Linked DNA regions of Homo sapiens: regions 2 and 3 are each linked to region 1. The links are contacts of gene promoters, found by promoter capture Hi-C in human tissues and cell types (Jung and others, 2019). All regions are on one chromosome and are shown on one strand. The core of a region is centred on a gene start or on the middle of the fragment in contact, and the rest is flanking DNA. Distances in the headings are between cores, read along the strand shown.

Region 1 (4,401 bases), core at 1-2,500:
AGGCGGAGTGGGGAGGAGGGAGCCCTCCGGAGTTCGGGAGCAGCACGTTGTGAGGGTCCACACAAGGGTGATGCCAGACCGAACACCATTAGGGCCTGGGTGTGAGTGTGACTCGGAGGCACCTGGGGGCCGTTGTAGGGCCGGGAAAAGCCAGGAACTGGCTGGAGCAGCACCCCAGCATCCCAGGGACCAAAGTCTGGGGGATTTGCATGTCTGAGGTTGCACTTGTGGGAAGACTTTTTGGAACCACTTAATCTCTGTGGCTCTGTGTAAGACCCGCGAAATAAAAAGAGGCAGTAGTACTCTTTGGAAGATTGTTTTAGGGATTAAATGAATAAAAAGCGTTTAGAACACTGCAGGACGCATTGTAGGCGCTGTATGGGTTTATGAAACCGAATATAAACAAATAAGCACGTCCCCCACCCAGCCAACGGCTTTGGGGGCCCCGTTCTGGCCAGTCCTGAGCCCCTCCACACGGCCCACGGCGGGCTGCGGGTCTCCCATCCGAGGAGGGTGCCGCTTTTCTGCCCCCGCTCCCTGGGTTCTGCGCCCAGCGCCATCCCGTGCGCCCCCGACCCTTGGGCATGGGGCACATGCCGCGGGGAGCCGCCAGGGAGACCCCAGAGGAGCGCGCCGCGGGCCGGCTTCCCCGGATGCCCCACCCACCTCCTCTTGGCGCTGCCCACCACCTGCCTCGGCTGCTCGGCCCCCGGCTCGCGAGGCTGCGCCCCCGACCCAGTCGGCGCCCACTCCTCGCCCTGCGGGCTCGCGGCAACTGGGCGGCCGGCCCGGCCCCTGCCCACCCCCAGCCCAGCCCGGCGCGCCGCACTGGGCATGCTCCGTAGCCTGGGCAGGTTGGGGCTGCGAGGCGACAGCTCGGGCTCTGGAGCCGGGAGGCGAGAACGAGGAGGGAGGCTCGGGGGCAGGGGAGGAGGAAGCGGCTGGCCGCTGAGGGGCGGCGGGGCCCGGAGCGGGGGACGCGCAGGGCCCGGCGGTGGGCGGGCGGGTCGGCGCTGCCCCGTGGGCTCGCTGGGGAGCCACGGCGGAGACCCCCGCCCTCAACTGAGGTAAGGACCGCGCGGCGCGGAGACGGGGAGGCGGGGAGGCCAGGGAGGGGGTGCGGAGGCAGGCGGGAGGGCGGGACTGGGGTGCGCCGGGAGGGGGCTTGGCGGCGGCTCTTTATGGCGAGGAGGGGGTGGTGGCGCCGCGCCGGGAGCAGTAAGTGAGCTGCACCGCCAACAAGATCTCTCACACACAGACACACACACGCACACGCACACACGGGCGCGCACACACACGCGCGTACACACTGGGTCTCCAGGCAGCGGCCGTCGCCGCATCCCCGGCAGCAGCTCCAGGCAAAGTGACAGGTAGGAAAAGGCATTTCGGGTCCCGCCCGAGGATGCTCCCGCCCGCCTTGGCCCTCAGGGCTTGTTTGCTTTCCGCGGGTGCGTCCCGGACGCGCGCGCGCGCGCACCCGGATGCCCAGCGGGGACCCCGTGCAGGTGCCGGGTGCCAGGCGCCCTGTGCGCGCGGGAGGCAGGGGACCCAGACGCCATCCCCCTTCCCCTGCAGTCATCGCCTGCTGGGTTTCCTCAGACTCTCTCCAGACGTTCACCCTCTTCTGGGCTAGAAATAGCTCGGCTCGACGTGTATATGATTATTTTGGTTGGAAATAGTTGGCACCGTGCAACGCATGTAAATGTGTATGCGTGTGGATCTTCTTGCCTCTTCTGGGGAAATCATAGAAATGATTGACCGTTTCCACTTAAAACAACACTGACAGGCTTAGCACTCATTGGGGGCAGGGTTCGGGCCTCCTAAAAGCCTGTTAGTGAAGGAAATCCTTATTTTCAGAATTTTAAAGTTGCTTTTGCTTTAACCAATTAGACTCTGTATAGTACAATACTTCTGAGTGTAGACTTCGTATATGGTACTGAATCGAAGTATGGAAATATGGAATTCTCTAATTTCCAAGTGTGTTTAAGTGCAACTTTATCTAGAATCATAAAACTAGCATTTTCCTAGAGAGAAATACAACTGCCCACTATAGTTTCCATAAATATGGATATATCTGAAAGATGACCCTACTCTTCCAACTTTTTTTCCTCTTAACTTCTGTAGTGATTCTAGCTATTGTTCTAAAACATGTATTTGAAATTTAATTTTGGCCAGAATATTCAGGAAAGGTGTTTTTTTTTCCATATACGTAATACTTAGTGGTCTATATATTTAAGTTATAGGTATGTGGAGATAGCTGTTTAATAATTCTTTTTGTCTGGAAATAACGTTATTCAAACATAGGCAGCTATGTATCATTTTAAAATGATATTGAATTTCCCCTTAAAGAGAAATCAGATTTATAATGTAAACATGACCAGGAAAAGCAACTGGTGACTTTACCTGGGGAGGCTCCAAGGAGGTTAAGAAAGTATCTGAACAACTGTGTTTTTCAGAATAGAAAAATTGTGTGTGTGTTGCGGGGGAAGGTAAAATTTTAACTTTATTCTTTTATTGTTTTCAAGACGGCTGTTTTCAGAAATGTGTGGTTGAACTGAGACCCTCATATTTTATACTCTTCAAATTTGAGTGGCCTCAGTTATAGAATCATACAGAAGATCAAAAGTCTAGCTCAGCAGGGGCATGTGGTGTAATCCCTCACTATCTGTGTTATGTAATCCAGAATGCTGTTTTTCATAGGACAGTCTTGCATGATCCTTAGCTGGTGTATTGATCTATTATATCATCTTCCTTTTGAACTGTAGTAGTTTAATAAATGATTGCCATCTTTGGAGAGCACCTGTTTTCATAAAAAATCACTTTTTGAAATGGCAAAACATTTTTATTGGCACTTTTATGAACGTAAGACTTGCTGCCAGACGAGTAACCTTTTGAATGTGACGTATTATAACATATCTAAAGGTACCATGTATTAGCTTATGGACTACACTTCCTTCCAACTATATTATTACTCAACAGTTGGAACTTAGTTTTGATGGTATTACTACCCAGCTCTGAATTAATCGCTGTTGAAAATGCTGTTCTACAAGTAACTGTCAAAACAGAATTTCTAACTCCATTTGATCACTGGGTGCACATTTAAATCTGTCGGAATAACTCTACCTTTATTTTGCAAATGCATACCCACGCAGAAAGCTTTGTTCTAAAATACTCTATTGGAAGTTTTATATTTATATGCCTGAAAATGTGAGTGATGTTAAACTGCTTACATGTCCTGGAATCGTGAGGCGGTGTGTTTTTGCCTTATGAGATAAAGAAATATGGTAGTTGAAAAAGTGTTACAGGTTACCAAAAACCTTTTGCAGGAAAAGATTTTAAAAATTTGTATCACCTCTGAAATATTTCAACCACAGCAGAGTCCATTCAGTGCCCGTAGCACAGCTAGTTTGCCTTTCCCAAGATTACACACAACTGTCTTTAGATTAATGTATACTGCTGACTTTGGCAACATGGGACAGTTATATTTGGCAATTTCAGTAAACATGGTATTTTCCTAAGATACCACTAACTTCATTTTGGGGTTTGATTTATTAAGAATTGAAATGTTTGCCTGGTATTCATCTTTACCTCACCCTCTAAGTAAAATTGAGGTAAAAGTGAGCTTCAGGGCTGCTGTGCTGTTTTCCTTGTGATCACATTAGCATGCTAATTTGTGAAAGGATGTAACAATATAAGTGAAATTAGCTTCTGAGTTTAGTGTCTGAATTTTCATCCCCAGTTTTTCAGATGTAGCTGGAAAACTCAAATAACAGAATTAATGAAAAAATTTTGCAGATTATTAAAAAAAATTAGTAATTAGCTGAGTTTGATTTTTTATTTTGAAATCTTGAGAGTAAATTTTATCTTTTCGGATTAGAGCACTTAGGTAATGTAAGAAAGATTTTGGATTTCTCATGCTCTCCACACTTAATAGTAAACTATTTTTGAGGAAGTATAAATTTTCTTTGAAACTTAAAATTATTTAGCAGGCTGTGACTAAATTTTTGTTTGTGATCACTTATAAAGTAAGGGTGAAACAGCATGTTGATTAGCACCGCCGACCCAGGTCTTTTAATAAACTGTCTATCTACCACAGTTGAGTCCCTGTAAAACCAAGAACTTCTGTATTTGATATGCAAAATTAGGTCAAGGACTAATGGAGATGCTTTAATGATCACAGTTGGTATTTTATGTCCAGATTGAAGTTTTTAAAATAGTTGCTTTTCACCTCATAATATATGAATGTGTAGGCCATATTAGTGTCTGTCAAGGAGACTTATCTGCCTGTTGGGAAATAAATACAGCTTTTCATCGCTGGTGGGAGGCAGCAGTGACTTTCTGTGGTTTTGCTGTTGGTTTTCAGATGTGAACTGTGTTTGCAAGGACACTGCTTAATTCTCA
Region 2 (4,127 bases), core at 446-2,945, 150 kb before region 1:
AATGCTCTGCAGTAACTATCTTGAAATTCTTAATCATTGTGAAGAAGGGGTCCTCAATTTTCATTTTGCACTGAATCCCACAAATCATGTAGCTGGCCCTGCCTCCTGCCAATAGAAACATGTCATTTATACTCCTCTTGGCATTCCTGCCTCAGGATTAAGAAGGCTCTCCTCCAACCAAAGAGAATTCTTTTTTTTTCCTTTTAAGTTTTTTTAAATTGAGATACAATTCACACACCATCACATTTATCCATTTAAAGTGTACAATGCAGTGATTTTTAGTATATTCACAAAGTTGTGCAACCATCCCCACTACCAAATTCTCAAAAACAAAAAACAAAAACCCTATACCATTAGCAGTCATTCATAATTCTCCCCTCCCAACAGCCCCTGAAAACCACTAATCTACTTTCTGTCTCTATAGATTTGCCTATTGTAGCATTTTATACAAATAGAATCGTGCATTATGTGGCCTTTTGTATCTGGCTTCCATGGAAACCACCTTTGCAGAATTAAGTCAATGAGAGAAATCTGATATACCTGACTCCATCTTGCTTCTAACCTTACAAGCTGTCTTTGCTCATTCCTGAGCATAGGCCAAACTAACTATGGGAGGAATTTAGTTCATGTTTTAACCATAAAGCAAGGATAATAATAGCTCCTTCCCAAAACTACTCCCTCCTTGTTTGGGAACTGAAACCACCTTTATAAAACTAATGAGAAGCCACAAAATTAGAATTACGGGAGAGGTCTGAATTTTGCTAAGACCTGCTTATAGTTAAAAGATAACTAGTCATTGTGTTTGCTCAGGGGTCTCATATGGGTGGTCACAAGATTTGTAACTTCCCTAATTGCTCCTACAGATAACATTGCTGTTGCAAAACCTGAAACTGGTGTTTGAGATATTTTTCATTATTTTTCATTCTGGCAATTGATTAACTACCCATACCAAGGATCTGATTCAACTTGGCCCTGTGACCCCCATGTAGGAAATGGCTCAGCCTAAGAAGACAGCTTCCATCCACTATGATTTCATCCCCAACCCAACCAGTCAGCATTGTCCATTCTCTAACCCCCTGCCCACCAAACTATCCTTGAAAAACTTTAGCCTCTGAACTTTTGGATAGGCTGATTTGAGTAATAAACTCCCATTCTTCCATCTGGCTAGCTCTGTGTTTATTAAACTCTTTCTCTACTGCAATACCACTGTCTCAGCGAATAGCTCCATCTGTGCATCAGGCAAGAAGAGCCTATCAGGAAATTACACTTTCACCTCGCATAATGTTTTCAAGGCCAAGGTGAATTCTTGTGTTCCTTCTTTGGACCCCAGCCTCTCCTACTGTAGAGACAAACTCAGAGTTGTTCTCACTCTCCATCGTTCCTTTTACAGATCCTGAGTAGAAGGTGAGTCAATGTAATTAAATCCTTTCCAATCTTTACAACAAAACCAATTCCTTCAATCTCACAATTGCTTCCATGAGTCCGTGCTCTCTCATTTTCTCCCTAGCCAAGCTTCTTAGCTCCCTCTGCTTTCTCGTCTCTCATTTACTCACTGCCTTTTCATGTCCGGCTTCTGTTCCCACCAGGCCAAAGAAAATGCACCTGTTAAGTGACAAATGGATTAGCTACCAAACCAATGATGTTTTCTGCCCTTGGCTTCCTTGACCTTGCTGCAAGGTTTGACATGATTGACCGCTCCTTTGTTGATACCTCCTTTTCCATTACCTCTTTTTCTCCCCCTAAATCTCTCTGGCTATCCTTCTCACTATAATTTTTTTCCAGAATCTTCATGTTTCCCTTGATCTCCAAATTCCAGCACATCTCAGAATTCTCTATTTGGTTCTTATTCTCATTCTATATATTTTCATTGGGACCTTCATCCAAACTGAACTATCACATATACGTTAAAAATTCCCAAGTCAATGTTTCTAGACATGCTTTTTATCCTGAGTTTCAAACCTATATGCAAAGGTCTATTAAATATCTCTTTACCTGGATATCCACCAATTCTTCAGCCCCCTTAAATATGCTTGTCGTTAAACCCACAATCCTTTTCCAAACATATTCAAGTGAATTAGATCCTTGTCTATCATCCAAACTATTCTGTGCAGAAGCTGGGACTCACCATGGACTTCCTCTTACCCATACACAATTAATCTCCAAGTTCATTCCCCATTCTCCATTAACATCTCCCAAGCATTGTGTTAGTCTGCATTCTCTTCCTCCCCACCCCCATACCACATCACCATTGGTAAAGACCTCAGCCTCACCCTGCCCCAAACAATCCGTCCCACAGTGCTTGCAGAATAAGCTTTCTGAGGCTGGGCACAGTGGCTTATGCCTGTGATCCCAGCACTTTGGGAGGCCAAGACAGGTAGATCACCTGAGGTCAGAAATTCAAGACCAGCCTAGCCAACATGGTGAAAATCAATCTCTACTAAAAACACAAAAAGTTAGCCAGTCATGGTGGCATGTGACTATGGTCCCAGCTACTCTGGAGGCTGAGGCATGATAATCATTTGAACCCGGGAGGCAGAGGTTGCAGTGAGCTGAGGTCGCACCACTGTACTCCAGCCTGGGCAACAGAGTGAGACTCCACCTCAAAAAATAAAAAATAAAAAATAAAAAAAGAATAAGCTTTCTGAAACACATGTCTTGTTATTCCTTTCCTCTGCTAAACTCTTAGCTTGGTAACTAAGGCCTAAACTAAACTACCCCTATGACTTTCTTTTCCACTGCTCTAATCAGAGCATGTCATATGATTTCACAGCTCTGTCTTTAAATACATATTTTTTTCTCTACCAGAATTATCCCCATCCACTACCCCATTTCTCAGACTAAATAATGTTCTGTAACTTTGTAAAATATTTTCCCAAGAGTTTGCTCTTCCCAGAAGCCTAATTGGCACAATTTAGATTCTCCTTTTTGCACTCAACATGCACATCTCTCTAATTGCATGCTAGCAGCATCTATTAATTTACTTGCCTCTTTCTCCTACCTGAGTGCAAGCTCTTGATCAATCATATACCATTTTAGTCTTCATATGCCAGTGCCTAGTAATGTGAATGGCACATAGTAGGTGCTCAGTTAATGCATAATAAATGAAATGATAAATCACTTCTAGAGGTCCTATGCGATTCTGTCTTTTTTTTTAGCTGATTCTCAAATAAATTTTATACAGAAAGCAGCACAATATACTCAATGGATTGGAGACTTGATGGAAAGCAATAGAATCCTGAAAACTGGTTTGTGGTCGTCAACCCTTTAAGAATCTGATTATATCTGGATTCTGTCCCTAAAAAAAATGCTCACACATACCCAGGGGTTTGTGTACAATTTTGGTAAATTCCTGAAACTTATTCATAGGCTCTGCTTGAAATTTTAAACCTGAGTTCTGCTTTCTCCTGTGCACTTCTGAGCAGACCTAGCTCCCAAGAGGAAGTCCCTACTCACTACCAGGATTGAAATAAGCAGACTAGCTTGAGGGCATGAGGACTTGATTAAATGTATTAACATATCAAAGGAAAGATGTGCACAGCAGAAGGGAAATAGCTTAGCCCTGGAAACACATAAAAATATAGAGTTGTTGTCTGTTTGTTTTTTGGTTTTGTTTTTTTTTTTGAGACAGGATCTCACTCTGTCTCCCAGGCTGGAGTGCAGTGGAACAGTCTCCACTCACTGCAGCCTCAAACTCCCATGCTCAAGTCATCTGCCCACCTTTGCCTCCCGAGTAGCTGGGACTATAGGTGCACACCACCACACCAGCTAAGTTTTCTATTTAATTTTTGTTTGCTTTTCTGTAGAGACCAGGTTTCTCCATGTTGCCCAGGCTGGTCTCAAACTCCCCCTAGCCTCAAGCAATTCTCCCACCTTGGCCTCCCAAAGTGCTGGATTTACAGGCATGTGCCTATAATGCCTGGCCAAAACCAGTTTGATAATGACAAAATTTAGCAGTGTCCACCTTGGCACCATTGGATCAAAGTGAACATTGCAGTTGTAGCCCACAGAAAGCATATCCGATCCCAGAGACAGGAACTTCCCTGGTGGGAGACAGAGGCATCAGGCTCTTCCAAACCTGAGCCACTAATTCTAATTCTCCTTTATCATTCAGTTACGTGACAAATTTT
Region 3 (4,130 bases), core at 1,623-4,122, 190 kb after region 1:
TTTCTCTTTGGAGAAGGGAATTTTAGCAGGACACACATGAAAAAATAAGTGCTCCTCTGTTAGGAATCTTCAACTGAGAAGGTGCCATCAGTGCAAACAAAGCCATGTTAGAGCAAAAGTATGTTTGGTCTGCCCAGCTCTAATAGATGATGTTCATGTCCCTTGGGCTCAAGAACAAAGGAACTGCCTGACAGTCTTTTGAAATCTCACCTGTTTCTTGGTAGAGAAGCTTCTGTGCAGTATACATTTCCATGATAAGTAACTGCTGTCAAATCTAATAAGAAGACTAATCTAAAATTTAGGCTGTATAAAAGTTAGGCTGTGTAATAAATAAAATAACCGGATTATATTAAAAAATAACTGTTTTTATTTGAAGACTGAGCACTTGGAGAAATATAGGAGTTAGCCAACAAAATCAATTCTTCAGCTTACATTTGAAAATGAAGTTCCTGTTTTAAGTGTATAAATCCTATGATAAAAATGTCTCAGCCTAGAAAATGCAATTTTTGAAATGTAAAGTTTTGATGTAGGATTAAAAATGTTATTGTCTTGGCCGGGCGTGGTGGCTCATGCCTGTAACCCCAGCACTTCGGGAGGCCAAGGCAGGTGGACCACTTGAGGCCCCTAGGAGTTCGAGACCAGCCTGGGCAACATGGTGAAACTCTGTCTCTACTAAAAATACAAAAGTTAGCCAGGCTTGGTGTTGCATGCCTGTAATCCCAGCTTCTTCGGAGGCTGAGACACAGGAATCTCTTGAATCTGGGAGTTGGAGGTTGCAGTGAGCTGAGATCGTGCCACTGTACTCCAGTCTGGGCAACGGAGCAAAACTCTGTCTCAAAAAATAAAAATAAAAAAAATTGTCTTATCACATTTACATAATTATTCTCTAATATTTATATTGCAATAAAAATGAATCTGGTAAAATTCCCTTGAAATGTGGGGATGTTTATTGCAAATGGTCCAATGGCTTTTCGGAGAAGCTCCTTGAGAAATATCCATATGATTCAAATTATGTGCAGAACAGCAAAGTAGTAAAAGTATACTATCAACTTTCTAGTATTAGAATTAAGAAATGTCAAGAAGAACCACCTCAAATTTTGGAAGGCCAGAGAAATTTTGATTCTTCTGCAATCACTCTAGTCAGTAAAAGAGATAAACCAAATAATAATAATAAATACACATATCTAGTAAAATATATATTTATACCTGCTCATATAGTGAAGTATATCTAATTTATCCAATACTATAGATAAGACATGGATGTGTTGTACCTTGCCCTGTTAATGGTGCGCTCACCAATAATCTCATCATCCTCTATGGCCCTAGGCAGAGTTCCTAATACTTTTGTTTCATTTGACAGATTTGAAAACACTCAGAGAAAAGCAGTATATACCCAAAGTCATAAGAATTGTAAGATTCAAAGTCATTCTTCTTGTTAGCTTCTGTTCTTTTCACTGCAGTATGCTGCCTCTTTATTCCTTGAGGCCCTCAGCCAATAGGATTTTGTAGGCGTGCTGGGCTTTTAGACATTAAAGAACTAGCCATTGAGTTGAACATTCCATGGTGGATTAAACCAGCCTAATTAACTTGTCTCTCCTCTCTACTACAGGTCTTCAGTCTTTTTTTTTTCTTTATTCTGGAAGCAGTAAAACTTTGAACTTAGTTTTTTTTTTTTTTTGTAAGTTTAGCATAAATTTAATGGCAAAATCATGCCCAAACCAACAGATGGTAATATATAATCTTTATTTATCCCACTTAGAGTGAATAGCCATAGATTTCACTCCATAAATACCTATGTATTTGATAAGGATCCACAAACATTTTCTGTAAATGGCCAGATAGTGATTATTTTAGGCCTTGTGGACCATACCATCTCTGTTGCAGCTACTCAACTCTGCATTCGTAGCATGAAAGCAGACATAGATAGTACATAAATGAAGTTGTGGCTGAGTGCAAATAAGTCTTTATTTGCAAAAATAGGTGGCAGGCTGGACTTGGCCCATTGACCATAGTTTGTCAACTGCCTAGACTAAAAGGTGATACTCAGATCTGTTGGGACTATTGCATAACATATATATATATATACACACACCATATTACCTTTCTGAATTCTGAAATATTTCAGACTTGAAGAGTGTTTAGTAAGGGATCAAGAGTGTGTACCTAAGATTTAAAGGAAGTTTTATAAAGGAGAAAGTCATCTCTATTATGGTCAAGCATTAAAGTTCTCGTATACATATGTCTGGAGGGGCAACTAAGGTTCAGATATTGCTAGTGCGTTAATCAGGAATGAGTTTTGTGAACAGCAAAGCATTGGAACACATAGCTTCTTTGTTGTCCCTTGTAACAAGATCAGAGGTAGGCAGTCCAGAGCTGGTTCAAGAGCTAAGTGATTCCCTCAGGGATCCAGACTCTGTCCATGTTTATTCTCCAGCATCCTTAGTTGATGAGCCTTCACCCTGATGCTCATTGTCTCATGGTTGCGAGATACATCCTGTACCTCCAGTGTCAAATGCACACTCCCAGCAAGGAGAAAAAAAGAAAGCAGGGAGAATTGTCTCTCTTAGAGAAGTAGAAACTTACCCCTGCAAATCTCGACATTCCTCTTGTCGGCTAAACAAGGTTACAAGGCTACTCCTAATTGTAAGGAAGACTCAGGAAGCAAGTATTTTTAGTTGGATTCATTTTCATCACCCTGTAAAAACAGGAGAAAGGATGTTGGGTGGGCAAGTTGCACACCATCTGCTGAGGCATCTGTTCTTGTTTGGTGGCTGTTATATTTCGTTACAGATACTTAACATCATATTGTCTTCTCCCTTGAGGAACATATCTTTTTAAGTATCCCCAGTGTTAGCAGCTTGTTTTCCATCTGAGTTGGAAAATTAAATAACATTATTCACATTTTTATGTAAATGTTGTATAATGTGCATATATAATTACTTGAGAATGGTTTTCTTCAGAAATACATTTTCCTATTTTCCTGAGGATTTTAGTTTTGGAGGACTTTGTTTACATGTGACTCTAGTATGCTGAGTAGCAAGGCTTGAGGGAAGAGTGAAGTTGACATAAATGGAAGGCAACTTGCACATTGAGGTTTGTGGGCAAGTGATTGTTCTCATGGAGGATGATTCCATCTAAGAGCAAGATTTTATGAACTCAGAGAATCTTAAGAAGAAACAGTTACTCAGTAACTTTCTTAAAATATAGATCTGATACAGGTATGAGAGAAGAGCAATTAAATAGGCACACAGAGATCATTTTAGTTCTTAACTTGAATATCTTGGGATACTTCCTTTCCTCCTAGAGGTAGTATTTATTCTGTTTCTGGAAACAGGGCATGTAACTTGCTCTTTCTTTGGTGTAGACTACCATAATAAGAAAGGATGGAGGTAACTGCATGATTTTAATTGTGTCTTTTTGCTTTAGTAGAATGTCCTAAAATGACACAAGTGAGAATAGTGTGAAAATAAATACATTCATTTATTGGTTAAGCTTTAAATGTGAGTGAAATTTTCTTCAACTAATTATAATACTAAATTAATTCTAGAATCTGTTTCAATGTAGCCATATAATTATGTAGAACTATAACCCTTTATTGCCCAGATAAATCTTGACCCTGAAATAATGTACGATAGACCCTCATCTGCTATAATTCTGAAAACTGCAGTAAGAAAGCCAAATTTTAATCCAAATGTTTCATGGTTCTTTGGGCTTCCAAGATGACAGGCTCATCAAAAACTATTCCTGACTTGGCCAGAAATGGAAAGATCTTCATTTTGATGGGTACAAATGAAGAAGCCACATAGATACATATTTGGACCAAGATTCCTTCCTTTTGGCTTCGAGATCTTTCACTAACAGGACTGAACGAACCAGAATCAACAGTATTGGGAAAAGTAGATAACTAAAATATAAATTTTAACATGAACAAATTTACCAACTGATTCAGAAGAAACAGAAATCAGAGAAGAGATGGAACTTTAAAATAAATTTAAATTTTATCAGGGAGTTGTGGACAGACTCCTATGAAAAGGAGGACTTCAAGAGCAAGAAGGGATTCTTGGAAATTAAGTCTGATTGTTGACTTTTAAAAACAGCATATTAGCTGAAAGAAAAGATGCAGAACTTTT

Evidence for each region. Contacts are between HindIII fragments. The study calls those that stand out against the background at their distance.
Region 2: a fragment that was not itself captured here is called in contact with the fragment with the promoter of PLCB4 in region 1 in 2 of the 25 tissues and cell types used here (H1 embryonic stem cells and stomach).
Region 3: a fragment that was not itself captured here is called in contact with the fragment with the promoter of PLCB4 in region 1 in 1 of the 25 tissues and cell types used here (dorsolateral prefrontal cortex).

Annotation. Positions count from the first base shown.
Region 1 is chr20:9,067,837-9,072,237 of GRCh38, forward strand. It overlaps PLCB4 (phospholipase C beta 4), which reads left to right and starts at 1,251. Exons shown (of 40, transcript NM_001377142.1): 1 at 1,251-1,370. The HindIII fragment of the contact is 12,704 bases long and covers 1-3,948 here.
Region 2 is chr20:8,913,808-8,917,934 of GRCh38, forward strand. No RefSeq gene overlaps it. Among named protein-coding and RNA genes, the nearest start is that of RNU105B, 85 kb to the left of the region's middle. The HindIII fragment of the contact is 4,398 bases long and covers 1-3,894 here.
Region 3 is chr20:9,253,862-9,257,991 of GRCh38, forward strand. The region is part of intron 3 of PLCB4 (phospholipase C beta 4); the gene reads left to right. Among named protein-coding and RNA genes, the nearest start is that of PLCB4, 190 kb to the left of the region's middle. The HindIII fragment of the contact is 6,822 bases long and covers 1-4,130 here.